2 separate regions of the Homo sapiens genome follow, and region 1 is linked to region 2. The links are contacts of gene promoters, found by promoter capture Hi-C in human tissues and cell types (Jung and others, 2019). All regions are on one chromosome and are shown on one strand. Each heading gives the region's core, a stretch centred on a gene start or on the middle of the fragment in contact. The rest is flanking DNA. Distances are from core to core; before and after follow the strand shown. Region 1 overlaps LOC124902479 (a long non-coding RNA gene). Region 2 holds the start of BTAF1 (B-TFIID TATA-box binding protein associated factor 1).

Region 1 (7,011 bases), core at 3,616-6,115, 910 kb after region 2:
CTTATTTTTCTTTAAATTAATATAAATCTGACTCTGCAATCCCTTTCTCCCAAGCTGGCAGGAAGTTCAATTCATTTATCATAAGGGCAAGGCCCCATCTTTTTTTTTTTTTTTTTTTTTGAGATGGAGTCTCACTCTGTCACCCAGGCTGGTGTGCAGTGGTGCGATCTCGGCTCACTGCAACTTCCACCTCCTGGGCTCAAGTGATTCTCCTGTCTCAGCTTCCTGAGTAGCTGGGACTACAGGCGCATGCCACCATGCCTGGCTAATTTTTATATTTTTAGTAGAGACGGGGTTTCACCATGTAGGCCAGGCTGATCTTGAACTCCTGACCTCAAGTGATCTGCCCTCCTTGGCCTCCTAAAGACCTGGGATTACAGGCATGAACAAATACCAAATGCCAGATCTCCTCAAAAGGGGCATGAGGAAAATTTTTGGGGTGATAGATATGTTCACTATCTTTATTAACATGATAGTTTCTTCATTTATACCTAAATAGAGCTGTTAAAATAATTTAAAAATACTTTTGTAAAATATTTCAAAAGTGCAGATAAACAAAGGATACTATAACAAACATCCGTGTACCCACTACTAAGTTTTGACAGATCTTAACATTTTTCTACGGTTCCTTTAGATTTAAATCATTAGATATACCTGAAACTTCTATGATCCTTCCTAATCCAATTTCCTTTTTACCTCCCTTACTCCAAATGCAAGCATTATCCTGACTTTAATGATTGTGGACCTCATGCGGGTTTGAGATGCTTTGTTTGTATGCCCATAGATAATACATAGTATACTTGCATATGGTTTATATATTGGAAATCTTAACGTAAATGGTAACTTCCTCCCAAAACTTCTTCTTTATATTCAACACTGTTTTTTGAAATGTATCCATGTTTCTCTAGTTCATTCATTTAGCAGTCCATTTTGTGAATATACACAATGTATTTAAACATCCTACCCTTGGATTTTTAAGCTGTTTCCAATTTTCCAGTCTTACAAACAACTTTGCCCTTCTGCATCCTTACACCTTTTTCCTTGGGCCTATATGTGAGTATATACCTAGATGTTTTCTGGGAATCTTCAGTTTTACTAGCTAGAGCTAAATGGCTCTCCAAAGTGGATTATATTCACATAGCAGTTAGCATTTCCATTGCTCCTTATCCATACACACTTCTAAATGTGAGACATGGGAATCTTCAACTCCTCCTCCTGGGAGGACCTATCTTTAGTTTTCTCCAGGTGCACCTTACAGCCCTCCTCTCTGAATTTAGCCACCTTCCTGGAAGGCAGCTGGGAGCTGAGACGGGTGCACGCTTCTCATGGGACTCTCTTCCTAGTCTCTTCAAATCCACCTCTGCTGCCTTCTCTTCCCCTGACATTGAAAAAACTCCTTTCTCAGCTATTATTGGTCATCATTCTGGGATATCCACCACCATCCCTTGGTGAGCTTCATCTTTTAAAAAAGACAGGTAGAGCTGACAGCTCTTCAGACAAAGAAATAGGAAAGGCCTCCCTGCTTTTGTGGAATTAGTGGGGGGTTGGAGATGGGGAAGGAGTAAGATGCAATATGACATCTCAAAAACTATACTCCCCATAAAAATGGTACTTTATCACCCAGAAGCCAAACCCCATGACCCATTTATACAGTTCTGACATCCAGTCTTCCCTTTCTGTCAATTCTTCATTAAAATGCTCTTCTTAGTCTGTGCACTAACCCTATTCTAGACCTTCATCTCACAGTCAGCACCAGGCTTCCATCTTCTCTTCCCGCTCCACTCACCCTCATACTCCAATGCCTTTCTTCAAATGAGCACCAGAGTGATTTTCTTAGAAGACCACTTTGAACATTTCAGTATCTTGCTTAGAGGCTTTTAAAGCCTCCCTCTTGCCTGCAAGGTAAGGTTCAGACTTCCTAACCTGACAGTCATGACCTGTTTCAATCTGGTCCTATCTAGACTTAACTCCTTGTCCTTCCTATATGATGAACCCTCTGCTCTGGCTGGCTGGTCTCCTTCATCCTCCAAATAGCTCCATCACTTTTCAGCTGCTTCTCCTCCTTGACGGACACTTTCCTTTTTTTCAGGCTTAGACCCAGCTCCTCCTGCTCCACCCAGCTTCTATAACTCTAGACCACTGCTATCTTTTAAACTCAAGCTGTTTCTTACATCCAGGTCAAGTATTTGGGCAGTTAACCCCAGTTTGCTTTAGGACAGTTTTGTTTTCACATATGTATTTATGTTTGTCTCGGCATTTAAGGTTATTATTTTCCTAATGTATGTTACATAGATATTAGTTCCTGCAGCTGCCCAAAACAAAAAAGTTAATTGTGTTTGAATAATTTTAGAATTATTTGGGGTATGCTTTAGGAAAGACTGCATACCATACCCCTCTCTAGAAGGTTCACATTGTGTGTGAGCATAGTAAAAGATCTGAAAAGTGCTGTGCCAATTAAAACAGCTTGATTATTTTCTGATTCTTAATTACCAAGAAAATCTTTTTGTCTTATAATAATATTAATATTCCTCAGATTTTAGTGCTCCTCAGAGGAGTCTTTGGAAAGCATGGAATTAAATTAGAAACTCCTTACCCATCATTTTAATCCTACCATGGTGGCTAGCCCAGTGACTTAGTACTTAGAAGGTGCTCAGGGAATATTTGGGGATTTGGTGAATAATCACGAATGTTTTAGTCAATTACTGAGCTAAACTCTTCTAAGAGTTTCTTTCTGTGCAGTCTTTAGAATGCTGTAAAACAAATAAATAACCTTGCTTCCATTTCTTATTAAATTTATTGGCACTAGACTGTGAAACTAATGGAATTTCTGGGTCTTCTATATGCTTCTGTGTCTGCTTGAGAAAGATAATCTGTGCTTGTACACAGTGGGAACATAAAAACTTCACAGAATTTTCCACTCCCAGCACACCAGACCCAGGGTTGGCTTCTTGTCATTTAAATGCCTGCCTTGTCATTTTATTTGACTCAGAGAAATCATTCAGAGAGAAGCTCAGGAACCGTCTGGACTCCCTGAAAAGGAACTGACTCAGAACTTTTCTACAGATGAATTATATTTCTAGGTCTCATTGTTTTTCACATTTGTGGGTTTGGATGTGCTTTTACCAGCATGTTGGATAGAAAAAGTAATGGCGGTTTGAATCCGAATCTGAGATAGCAAAAGAAAAATAACTGCAATTAGTTCAACAGCTAAAATTTTGGTAGACTTACTAGTAACTCAAAAGGTTGACCTCAGAATTCAAAAGTAAGAGTAAAAATTTGAACCTAAACTTTGACCTTGGAATTCAAAAATGAAAGGAGATTTTAGAGAGGCTTGACAATAAGTTAGTGATTTTTTAAAATGTTAGTATAACTTTTTTTCTTAAAAATTTTAATGGGTTGGGAAGCTGCGGCAGGTGGATCACCTGAGGTCAGAGGTTTGAGATCAGCATGGCCAACTTGGTGAAACCCCGTCTCTGCTAAAAATACAAAAATTAGCTGGGCGTGGTGGCAAGTGCCTGTAATTGCAGCTACTCAGGAGGCTGAAGCAGGAGAATCACTTGAACCCGGGAGGCAGAGGTTGCAGTGAGCCAAGATCACGCCACTCCACTACAGCCTGGGTGACAGAGCAAGACTTCATCTCAAAAGAAAAAAAATTCATGGATTAATGTAAATATAGATATAAAAATAAATTATATACATTATATTATGCATATTACCACATTATACAATACATAATGTATTATCTATGTATTATTGTGTATATATATATATGGAAGAGTATAGAGCAAAACCTTTCCTTCCCAAGTCTGTCTCCCACCACTCAGCCCTCCCCAGAGGCATCCCTTTCTAAAAGATGCTTTTAAGCCTTCTAGAGATACACTGTGCATATCTAAGTATATGTTTATGCAATACCAAATGGCGTTATACAATTTACACTTCTTAACCTTGCTCTTAATATATATATATAGGAGAGGCGTTCTTTTCAGTAGGTATGGAGCTGCTTCTTTTTTTATTGCTTCAGTGGATGCCATTGTTTGGGTCTATTATCATTTATTTTATTTCCATATTAATGGACATTTAGATTATTTCAAATCATCTGCTATTATAAATGATGCTATAATGAATATTCTTATATACACATGTGTGTATATATATGTCCTTTCACAAGTGTGAATAAGGGTAGGTAATGAATTCTTAGATTTAGAAATGTCTAGGTCAAGGCATATATGTATTTTTTATTTTAATGGATCCTGCCAATTTGCACTCCTTAGCAGTCGTGCCAACTTAAAATTTCACCACCAATGTATGACAGTGCCAAGTTCCCAACACCTTTGCCTACACAGTGTATTATATATATGAAGTTCTTGTTAACTTTTCCTATATTATAGGTGAAAAACATTGTTTATAAATTGGATTTCTCACATGCTAAGTGAAGTCAAGCATTTTTATAGGTAGAAACCTATAATATTTCCTCTTCTGAGAATTATGCATATTCTTTGTTCATGTTCCTTTGGATGTTGTCTCATTGTTGATTCATGGGAACTCTTTATATACAGTCTGTGATACAGGTTGAAATAATTGACTTTAATTTCCAGTGCTAGTTCCTGAAAAAGACATTAGGCTATGATCTTTTCCAAAGTGACTCTCTCCTCAACCCTGACTTCTTAAAGATATACAATAGAAATGACTTCAGGGAAGATCAGTTTGCTTCCTTCTAGCTCGGCTTCATAAAAATTTTCCCAACAAAGCAAAACTAAACTTACATATCAGTACGTTCTGTATTATCTTTCCAAACTTAGCCAGTGGATTTAATGGGAATTGCTTTTCTGGGAAATGGTATCCTCCCATGACTTGTTTACATTCTAGCACAAGTAGGCTGCATACCCACCATGGCTGGTAGGATTTATTCAAATAACCTACCATTCCTTCTAGACCAGAGGTTACAAATTGGCCACCCAAGGGCCAAATGCAGCCACATATGTTTTATTTGGCCAGCCTGCTGTTTAGAAAAAAAACGAATTTGTTGCCCACATTAAAGAACAGTGGATGATTTTACAGGAATATCTAGATTTCTGACTTCTCTTGAAAAATCACAAGATCAGGAACATTGCATTTCCACATGACAACAGTTGGCTGGAGCTTGTGGGAATCTGCCCCGTTCATAAACCATGCACTTCCATACATTTTTTTAAGTTTTTTAGAAATAAAAATAGAGACGAGGTCTCACTGTATTATCCAGCTGATCTCAAACTCCTGAGCTCAAGCGATCCTCCCACCTCAGCCTCCCAAAGCATTAGGATTACAAGCATGAGCCTCTGCCACCTGGCCTCCATGTTTTGTTTTGTGGTTTTTGTTTTTGTTTTTGTTTTTTTGACACAGAGTCTCACTCTGTCACCCAGGCCAGAATACAATAGTGTGATCTTGGCTCACTGGAACCTCCACCTCCTGGGTTCAAGCGATTCTTCTGCCTCAGCCTCCTGAGTAGCTGGGATTACAGGCGCCTGCCACCATGCCTGACTAATTTTTGTATTTTTAGTAGAGATGGGTTTTCACCATGTTGTCCAGGCTGGTCTCAAACTCCTGACCTCAGGTGATCTGCCTGCTCGGCTTCCCAAAATGCTGGGAACAGGCCTGAGCCATGGTGCCCAGTCTGTTTTATGGGTTTGTTTGTTTGTTTGTTTTTTGAGACAGGCTCTCACTCTGTCACCCAGGCTGGAGTGCAGTGGCATGAACACAGCTCACTGCCACCTTGACCTCCCAGGCTCTGTTGATCCTCCCACTTCAGCCTCCCAAATAGCTGGGACCACAGACATGTGCCATCACACCTGGCTAGTTTTTGTATTTTTTGGTAGAGACAGAGTTTCACCATATTGCCCAGGCTAGTCTCAAACTCCTGGGCTCAAATGATCCTCCCGCCTTGGCCTCCCAAATTGCTGAGATCACCTCCATGTTCTTAAAGCAAGTCTGCTTTATTTATTTGTCACCTGCTGCTGGCTCCTGGAGATCTTTGCCTTTGGGAACCTCTAAGCCTTTGCTTCCAGAATTTTCCTCTGTCTCTCCCCTTCAATTACAAGAAGAAAGAAAAATCCTCCCAGGTGTCACATCTCTTTCAGACTCAGGTCTTTTCCACTTCTCTACCCCAGGCTCCTGCCCTTTCTTCTTTGAAAAGCTCGTTTCCTGCATCCCAGAGTGTTTACTTGCACTTTGTCCCATGTCCTCACACTTCCCTTTCAGCATTTTCCTTAGCAATTCAGCCTATACTTTCCAAAATAATTTGGGATGAGAAAAGTCTGCTCCACTAGGGCATGAATTTTAACACAGTTAAACAGACTCTAACAAAGTTTTGAGAAAGATGAATGAAACTTAGTTTTGAAGCTCCTTTTGGGCACTAATGAATGCTTTAACATGAAAATGTTTTCTAGGATGGAGTATATCGACCCAGGATTGGTTTGCTCCTCTTCGTCCCAATTGCCTCTCTCTTAGTTCAAGTTCTGGTCAGCTTCCACCCGAACTATGACCTCAGCCTCATAATGAATCTCCATGTTGCCAGTCTCTATTCTTCAGTTCTATTTGTGACATAATTTTTTAAAGCTTGAACATGAATCTTATCTTATCAACCCCCATTTCTCTTAACAACCTTTGATGATTCCCTGTTACCTAGAGGAGATGCCTCATACCAACAAGACTCACAAAGTCTTTTAGAATCGGGCCCTAGGACCTTATTTTCGACCCATTTGTAAACCTGGTGGCCCAACTACATCAGACTCTTCTCTATTCTCTGAGACCACCAAGAACATGATGTCCACATGCTGCTGCAAATGGTGCTCCCTTTAATTGAAATGCTGTATTTCTGCTCTTTTATCTAGCATGTCCTTATTTTTCCTTCAAAATCCAAGGCAATGTCATGTCCTCTGTGGAATCTTCCATCTTCTCCTACTTGGTTCCTCCCTCATCTGTATTTCTGTAATACTTCTCATAATTATTTAAGATGTTTTTCTCCCTCATTAGACT
Region 2 (7,521 bases), core at 2,247-4,746:
TCGGGAGGCTGAGGCAGGAGAATCGTTTGAACCCGGGAGGTGGAGGTTATGGTGAGTCAAGAACGCACCATTGCACTCCAGCGTGGGCAACAAGAGCAAAACTCTGTCTCAAAAAAAAAAAAAATCAAACAAAAAAACACACTAAGGTCAGAACTAGCCATACCTGAGATGGGGCTAAGAAGTGTTCCAAAGATAAACAGTAGGGGGTAACAAAATGAATTCTGGGGAGGGTGGAGGATAGAAGAGAGAAGAAGGTGAAGGGGAAGTACAGAGAAGTTGACACAAGATGAATCTAAAAAGATGACACAGGAACCAGATCACAAAGGACTTGGTAAGATATGTTTGTTTGAGAATGTGGACTTTATCCTAAGGCAATAGGAAACAACTAAAGGTATTAATTAGAAAGATTACCATGTTCATGTTCAAATCTTCAAATCAGTAAATAATATGACTGAAGCGAAGAACAGATTGAAATGAGATGCCATGGAAGGCAGGAAAAGGAGAGAGGCTCCTGTCTTGTACTAAACATGTCCAAATACCAAATACATTGATACATAAACTTACTATGAGACTTATCAGGTGATACAATGTTCAAGGAGATGAGTACTTCCTTTCCTAGGGTTGAGTGTGTATTTTCAAAAGATTGGATGTAGCTTTACAGTGACAAAAGGGAAGCGTCTCTCTAAAGGTGTCTTGGACTAGAGATGGTGGCATGTTCTAGGATTGTGGTAACTGGTATAGAAAGAAAAATGATCAGCTGGAGAAAGATTAGAAAGGCAGAATATACAGGATTGGATTTGGTAACTGGCTGGACATGGGGTGTGGGAGGAAAAGGGAAGTCAAAGAACATTCTCAAATTTCTTGACCAGACAATTGAGGGAATAATGGTACTAACTTACTATTTCCCATCTGTTGGAAATTCTGGTGGAAATGTCCTAAAAATATTACAGTTTCTCTTCAGTTATGCATATGAAATAAACAGTGCAAAAAATATTTTAGATTTGATTTTAGCATATGATTTTTATCTCCTGGGCTATTTTCCACCTATTTTACGTAAAATAGTATTAAAATGAGTCTGCACCAACAGGAGAGAAAGGAAGTTTAGTTAGCACAGAACTGTGCTTCGTGCATGGAGAAGGCCAGCTTGAAACTAAAATTTGCCATTCAAAGAAATCCACAGGTGAAAAAGTCAAGAATTGACACTATCCCCAAAACACACAAGTGTCTCAAAATGTTTTCCTTGGGCTTACTACTGAGCCCAAGGAAACTAAGCACAGAAATAGCTCTTCCATAAAAACATGACAGGCTTTTAAAAAAGTGAACGAGAAAAAAATCCACAGAAAAAGAGTGCTACTCTTTGAAACACAACATCCAGAACAAAAGACAGTACCTTCAAAACCCACTCAGTCATTGAGAAATATTAACTGTCCTAAAATTCCGTAAAGAGATTAGTGTTGGCTGGGCGCGGTGGCTCACGCCTGTAATCCCAGCACTTTGGGAGGCCAAGGCCGGCGGATCACGAGGTAAGGAGATCGAGACCATCCTGGCTAACACGGTGAAACCCGTCTCTACTAAAAATACAAAAAACTAGCCAGGTGTGGTGGCGGGTGCCTGTGGTCCCAGCTACTTGGGAGGCTGAGGCAGGAGGATGGCCTGAACCCGGGATGCGGAGCTTGCAGTGAGCCGAGATCTCGCCACTGCACTCCAGCCTGGGCTACAGAGCCAGATTCCTTCTCAAAAAAAAAAAAAGAGATTAGCGTTGCCCGAAAATTAGGTTCTTTTTAAACACTTTCATTTTGTCTTTATAAAGCTACATCCAATCCTGTGAAAATGCACAGGTTGCTCTAAGAAAAGAAGTACTCATCTCCTTAAACACTATTACCTGATAAATGTTATATTAAGTTTACATATCAATGCATTTACAATGTATATATTCATGCATTTATATGGGAGGTAACAAATTAGAAGATACACCTTTCTATATTTGCAAAAATGTAAAATGTCACTTGTATTCTCTCAAGGCAGTTTTATTTAAAAAAAAATTTCCTCACATTGAATAGATTATAAAATAAAAATCAGATGCCCCATACTACGGTACCTAGCAACCCCCTTCACCCAACTCCCATGGGCTTCTCCCACACACTATTTCATCAGTCATCTAGGGAGTCTGTAAGGAATGGGTTATCCTTTCCCTTGCAAAACAGATAAAACTTGTGCACTTAATACGCTCAAAGAATGTGTTCAGTTAATTATAAAAAAATGAAAACTATTTGTTTTCATCATTTATTCCTTCAGTCTATATGGTAAAAGAATCCAATTCTCATTAAAAGTTACCATATCAACTCTAAGGAACTTGGTGAATCCATCCGATCACTATCACAGAGGAACTATCCCTTAATTACATGTACAGAGGGTCACCAAATTCCGCTTACAAAAGCTTTCCAACCATTCTATCATACCGGAGGAAAAAGTAATGTTTCTCCTATAGCTATACAAATAAATGTCGTTAGTTTTTCTATAGTTTTCCTGGGCTTTCCTGTTGACAGGCAATATTTCAAAAGAATATAAGATCTGTGATTTATCTTCCACGCCTTAGTTACGGAAAATGATGCTAATACGATAATTGGCTTAAGGTTACAACGCTGACGTTGGAATGTTTACTGCCAAACAAAAGGAGAAATTATACTTAATTTTAAAAAACATCTCAGGAAAGAACATACCCCTAAAAACGTAAATTAAAACTGGTAACATAATTAGACGGTCTCTTAGATAATAGTAATTCAGGTTTCCCCTCCATCGACAGTAACTACCAAGTTTTCCCATGAAATGGAGGTTAGGGACCAGCCTTAGAATACTGAGAAAGATAAGAGACTCCCCTAGAATCGAAAGAGGGAAGAGAAACCAGAGAACAGAAACATGGTGAGGAAAGAGAAAAAACAGCTCTAACGTGCCAAGGGGTCTATTAACAAGAAAAAGGCATTATTGAACCGATTTACCCAGGAGTAACCCGAGCCCAAACCCCCGCCGACCACGGGGCGAACTCCGAAGTCTACTGAAGAAAGCTCCAGAGCCCAGTGACAATGAGAACCGCTCTTCTCTAGGAGTGGGGGCTCTAAGAGGAGACCATGCCTTCCCTGAATCGCCTTCCAGTTTGCTCGTCAGGAGCAAGACCCACCTGGAGACCGCCATGGCCGGGCGCCGGCGGTTCGGAGCTCCCCGCGACCTACGCGCCGCGCAGCTGAGGCGCTAGTTTCCAGAGAGCTGAGCGGCGCAGGCCCAGGCCGCGGAGCACAGGGGAGCGGCCGGTGCGGCGTGGGGCGTTCCAGCGCAGGCCCTCGGGCATCTGCCCTGCCGCCTACCCGAGCTCGTCCCCGCGGCGGCCGGTAAGCAGGGGTCCAAGACGGTAGCGGAGGCGGCAGTCCTCCGACCCGCACGACTTCAAACCGGGTACCCTCAGCTCCGCTCTTTGCTGACGCGGGCGTCGGCACGCACAACTGAGCGTCAGCGCGCCGGAAGTGACGTAAGCTCACCGACAGGAGCTTAGCTCGGCGCGAGCGCCTTTGGTTTGGCGGCACGCGCCTAAATAAAAGCGCTTTGTGCTGATGTGGAGAGGGTGTCTAGTCTTAAAACTAGGGAAGGAGGTGAAGTAAGGGTCCCCTTATTTGACAGAGAAGGAAAAAGGCGATTTAGTCCAAGTCCTGGAACTTCGAAAGCTTGGTTTCTAATTCCACACTACCCAGATTCTGCTTCCCACCGTACTGCATCTAGGAAGCAAGATCAGAAGGACCTTAACATGCTCTTGTCCAGGTGGTGAAGCCAGTGGGAGGAGTGAAAGCAAAAAGTCGCTATGACACTGAAGAAATGGCTCAGATGTTTGTCATTATTTGCCAGAAGTTCTGCCTAGGTATTGGAGAGAAGGTCTTCTGACCAACGATTTTGCCAAGTTTGATTTCTCAATTGTTTATGTTGTTTGTACCATCATTTTCTCAGCCAGCCAGATTTGAAAACTACCATTTTTAAATTTTTGTTCCTTTGGGGGACTTATCTGGCTTTTCAATATTTTTAAGTTCATTAGGCTTTTAAACACTTCTGCCAGGCCCTTATCATCTTACACTTGATTTTTTTTTTTTGACCGAGTTTCGCTCTGTCGCCCAGGCTGGAGTGCAGTGGCGCGATCTCGGCTCACTGCCAACCTGCGCTTACCGGGTTCAAGCGATTCTAAATGTGCCTCAACCTCCCGAGTAGCTGGGAGGCACACGAGCCCCACGCCGGGCCAATTTTTTGTATTTTTTAGTAGAGACGGGGTTTCGCCATGTAGGCCAGGCTTGTCTCCTGCTCCTGGCCTCAAGTGATCTGCCCGCCTCGGCCTCCCAAAGTGCTGGGATTACAGGTGTGAGCCACTGCGCCCGGCCCTTAAACTTGATTTTTATGCTAGTAGTCAAAATAATATTTCTCCAATTTTCAGTTCAGCCCATTTTATAGGCCAACAGATTAATCTTCAAAAAACCTCACTGCTTTTTATCATGTCGCTCCTATGCTTATAAAGCATGTCCATTGGCTTCTCATTACCTGAAGAGGCTATGTCTCAATCCTTGAGTCTGTTTTTCATCTGTAAAATGAGGCTAATGAGAAGTACTGCAGAAGATTGTGGGAATAAAATGAGGTCATGAATCTAGAAGAGCTTACAAGAACTTTGTAAACCATAAAGTAGTATATATGTATGTAAAGAGAAAGAAACTAACAAGTACCTGCTGTGTGCTGGGCACATGACATGCATTATCCATATAATTTGTAGGGAAGCCTTGAAAAGTTAGTTTTAATCTTCGTAGACAAGGAAACTAAGCTCAGAAAGGTTAAGTAATTTGCCTCAAGATTCAAGCTAGTAATAATATTTATTGTCCAGTCATTCAACAAATGTTTGTCACCTCTCTGTATCAGAAACTCTGCTTGGCGGTGTTCATGCTATTAAAATCTAATCAAGTTGATGTTCAAGATATCTTTACATTTTCACTTTAGTCACCTACTTGCCTCATCAGTTTATCTCCCACCATTCAATAACAAGCAGATACTTTTTACTGATCGTGTACAGCAATCATTTAGCCAAAATTAAGCACCTACCATATGAGAGACTGGAACTTCTGAAGAAACCAGAACAGACAAGGTGCCTACTCTGGTTGAATTTACATTAAAAGGAAAGGAAAAAGAAAATAGATAAACATTGAAAATATATTTATGTGCTATGTAAAGAGAATGATGGAATTAATGGTATGATTAAAGACCTACTCTTACTGGGTAAATCAGGGAAAAACAGGATTAGCTTAAGCTGAGCCCTAAATGACAAGAGGTAGCTAAATGTGTGACAATCTGGGAGCCTTCCAGGAAGAGGGTATACGTAGTGCAAAGGCGTAAGAGAAGTCTGCTCTGTTGGGAAATGAGATGGGAGAAGTAGAAAGGGATCATCGTAAGGAATTTGGACTTTGCTCCATATGAAGTAGAAAGTCATAGAGTTTTAAGCAAGTGAGTAAAATGATCTTAGTTATATTTTTTAAATCTTTTTATTATCAGATAATTGGGTATATAGTCTAAATGGCATTAGAAGAGAGGAAAGGACTGGTGGTGTAGATTTGTAAAGGATAGTGTAATAATCAAATATATTGATATTGGACCGGCTTGTTTTTAAATCCTTTCTCACCACACTGAATCGCAGTGTCTCCAGGGGGAATTTTAGAACCTCTCTAAGCTTCATCTGGGAAATGAGGATAATAATAGTACTCATAGGGTTGCGGTGATGATTAAATTAATGCACATAAAACATTTAACCAAGTGACTGCCACGAGAAGCCCTCAAAAATATTATTAACTACATTGCTTACTGTTTTTGTTAACAATGGAAACTTGAGTAAGTGGCAATTTCTAGTCTCAATTTATTCAGCTGTGAAACGGGGATAATAATAGTACCAGTTCACCACCGTTATCTATACCAGTTCATCACCCCTGCCAGATGGTTTTCTGAGTTAAGAATTATTTAGGTTTTGAAAAGAAATCCAATGAATATACCTTGTATTATGCAGCATCCCAACAGCTTGTAGGGCAGTACTCTATAATCAAATATATTTATAGAGCTGCAGCAAAATGTATGACTAACCATACTAAGAGGAATAAGTAAAAGACTATAGATAGGCATATGCCAGTTCAGGCCAGGATTTGCTGCCAAATATATATATTTTGAGATGGCATTTTGCTGTTTCCAAGGCTGGTCTTGAACTCCTGGGCTCAAGCAGTCCTCCCATCTCAGCCTCATGAGTAGCTGGGACTATAGGTGAGTTTTTAAAAGTGTGGTTTTCAGACCATTTTCAATTTCAGAATTGTAAATAATAGATCATGAACCTGTACTTATAGAATTGTCATAAGGAAGAAATGAGTTCATACATGACACACTTAGAAAATACTAAGTATTAGCCAGGTGTGATAGTTCATGCCTGTCATCCCAGCACGTTGAGAGGCTGATGTGGGAGGATCGCTTGAGCCCAGGAATTCGAGACCAACCTGGGCAACATAGGGAGACCTCATGTCTACAAAAAAAATTTTTTTTAATTAGGCTGGGTGCGGTGGCTCATGCCTGTAATCCCAGCACTTTGGGAGGCCAAGGCAGGCAGATCATGAGGTCAGGAGATGGAGACCATCCTGGCTAACACAGTGAAACCCAGTCTCTATGAAAAATACAAAAAATTAACCGGGCATGGTGGCGGGCACCTGTAGTCCCAGCTACGCGGGAGGCTGAGGCAGGAGAATGGCATGAACCTGGGAGGCAGAGCTTGCAGTGAGCCAAGATCACGCCACTGCACTCCAGCCTGGGTGATGGAGCAAGATTCCGTCTCAAAAAAAAAAAAAAAAAAAAAGCCAGCTGTTGGTGGCATGTGCCTATAATCTTGGCTACTCAGGAGGCTAAGGTGGGAGGATCCCTTGAGCCCAGGAACTTGAGGCAACAGTAAGCCATGATCATGCTACTCTACTCTAGCCTGGGTGACAGAAGGAGACCCTGTTTCAATGAAAAGAAAAGACTAAGTATTAAATAAATATTAACTATTATGATTAACTATTTTAGTTATTATTATTTATAATAACTAAATGTACACCATTAAGTGAACAAATATTCACATTATAGGAGTTAAGGAAGGAGAAGTGATAACGAAAAAGCTTATTTAGTGAAATTATTGCTAAAAAAACCTTTCAAGTCTTGGGACAGATATAGAGGGGCAGATTCATAAAACTGAAAGATCCCCCAATAAATACAGCCCAAAGACATCCTCACCAAGGCACATAATAATCAAACTGTCAAAATTTAAAGAAAAATAAAGAATTTTAAAAGCAGCAAGAGAAAAGTGTCAAGTCACATATACGGGAATCTCCATTAGACTACCAATAGATTTCTCAGGAGAAACCTTATAGGCCAGGAAAGAATAAGATTATATATTCAAAGTGCTGAAAGGAATGAAGAAATGAAGAAGAAATAAAGTTTTTC

Evidence for each region. The method cuts DNA at HindIII sites, captures the fragments that hold promoters and counts their contacts. A contact is called where the count stands out against the background at its distance.
Region 1: a fragment that was not itself captured here is called in contact with the fragment with the promoter of BTAF1 in region 2 in 1 of the 25 tissues and cell types used here (dorsolateral prefrontal cortex).

Annotation. Positions count from the first base shown.
Region 1 is chr10:91,013,379-91,020,389 of GRCh38, reverse strand. The region is part of intron 1 of LOC124902479 (a long non-coding RNA gene); the gene reads left to right. Among named protein-coding and RNA genes, the nearest start is that of LINC00502, 29 kb to the left of the region's middle. The HindIII fragment of the contact is 3,896 bases long and covers 2,918-6,813 here.
Region 2 is chr10:91,919,745-91,927,265 of GRCh38, reverse strand. BTAF1 (B-TFIID TATA-box binding protein associated factor 1) reads right to left here and starts at 3,496. Exons shown (of 38, transcript NM_003972.3): 1 at 3,176-3,496. The coding sequence starts at 3,189. RefSeq lists enhancers at 2,954-3,153, 3,764-3,873, 4,221-4,754 and a silencer at 3,214-3,513. The HindIII fragment of the contact is 3,578 bases long and covers 1,150-4,727 here.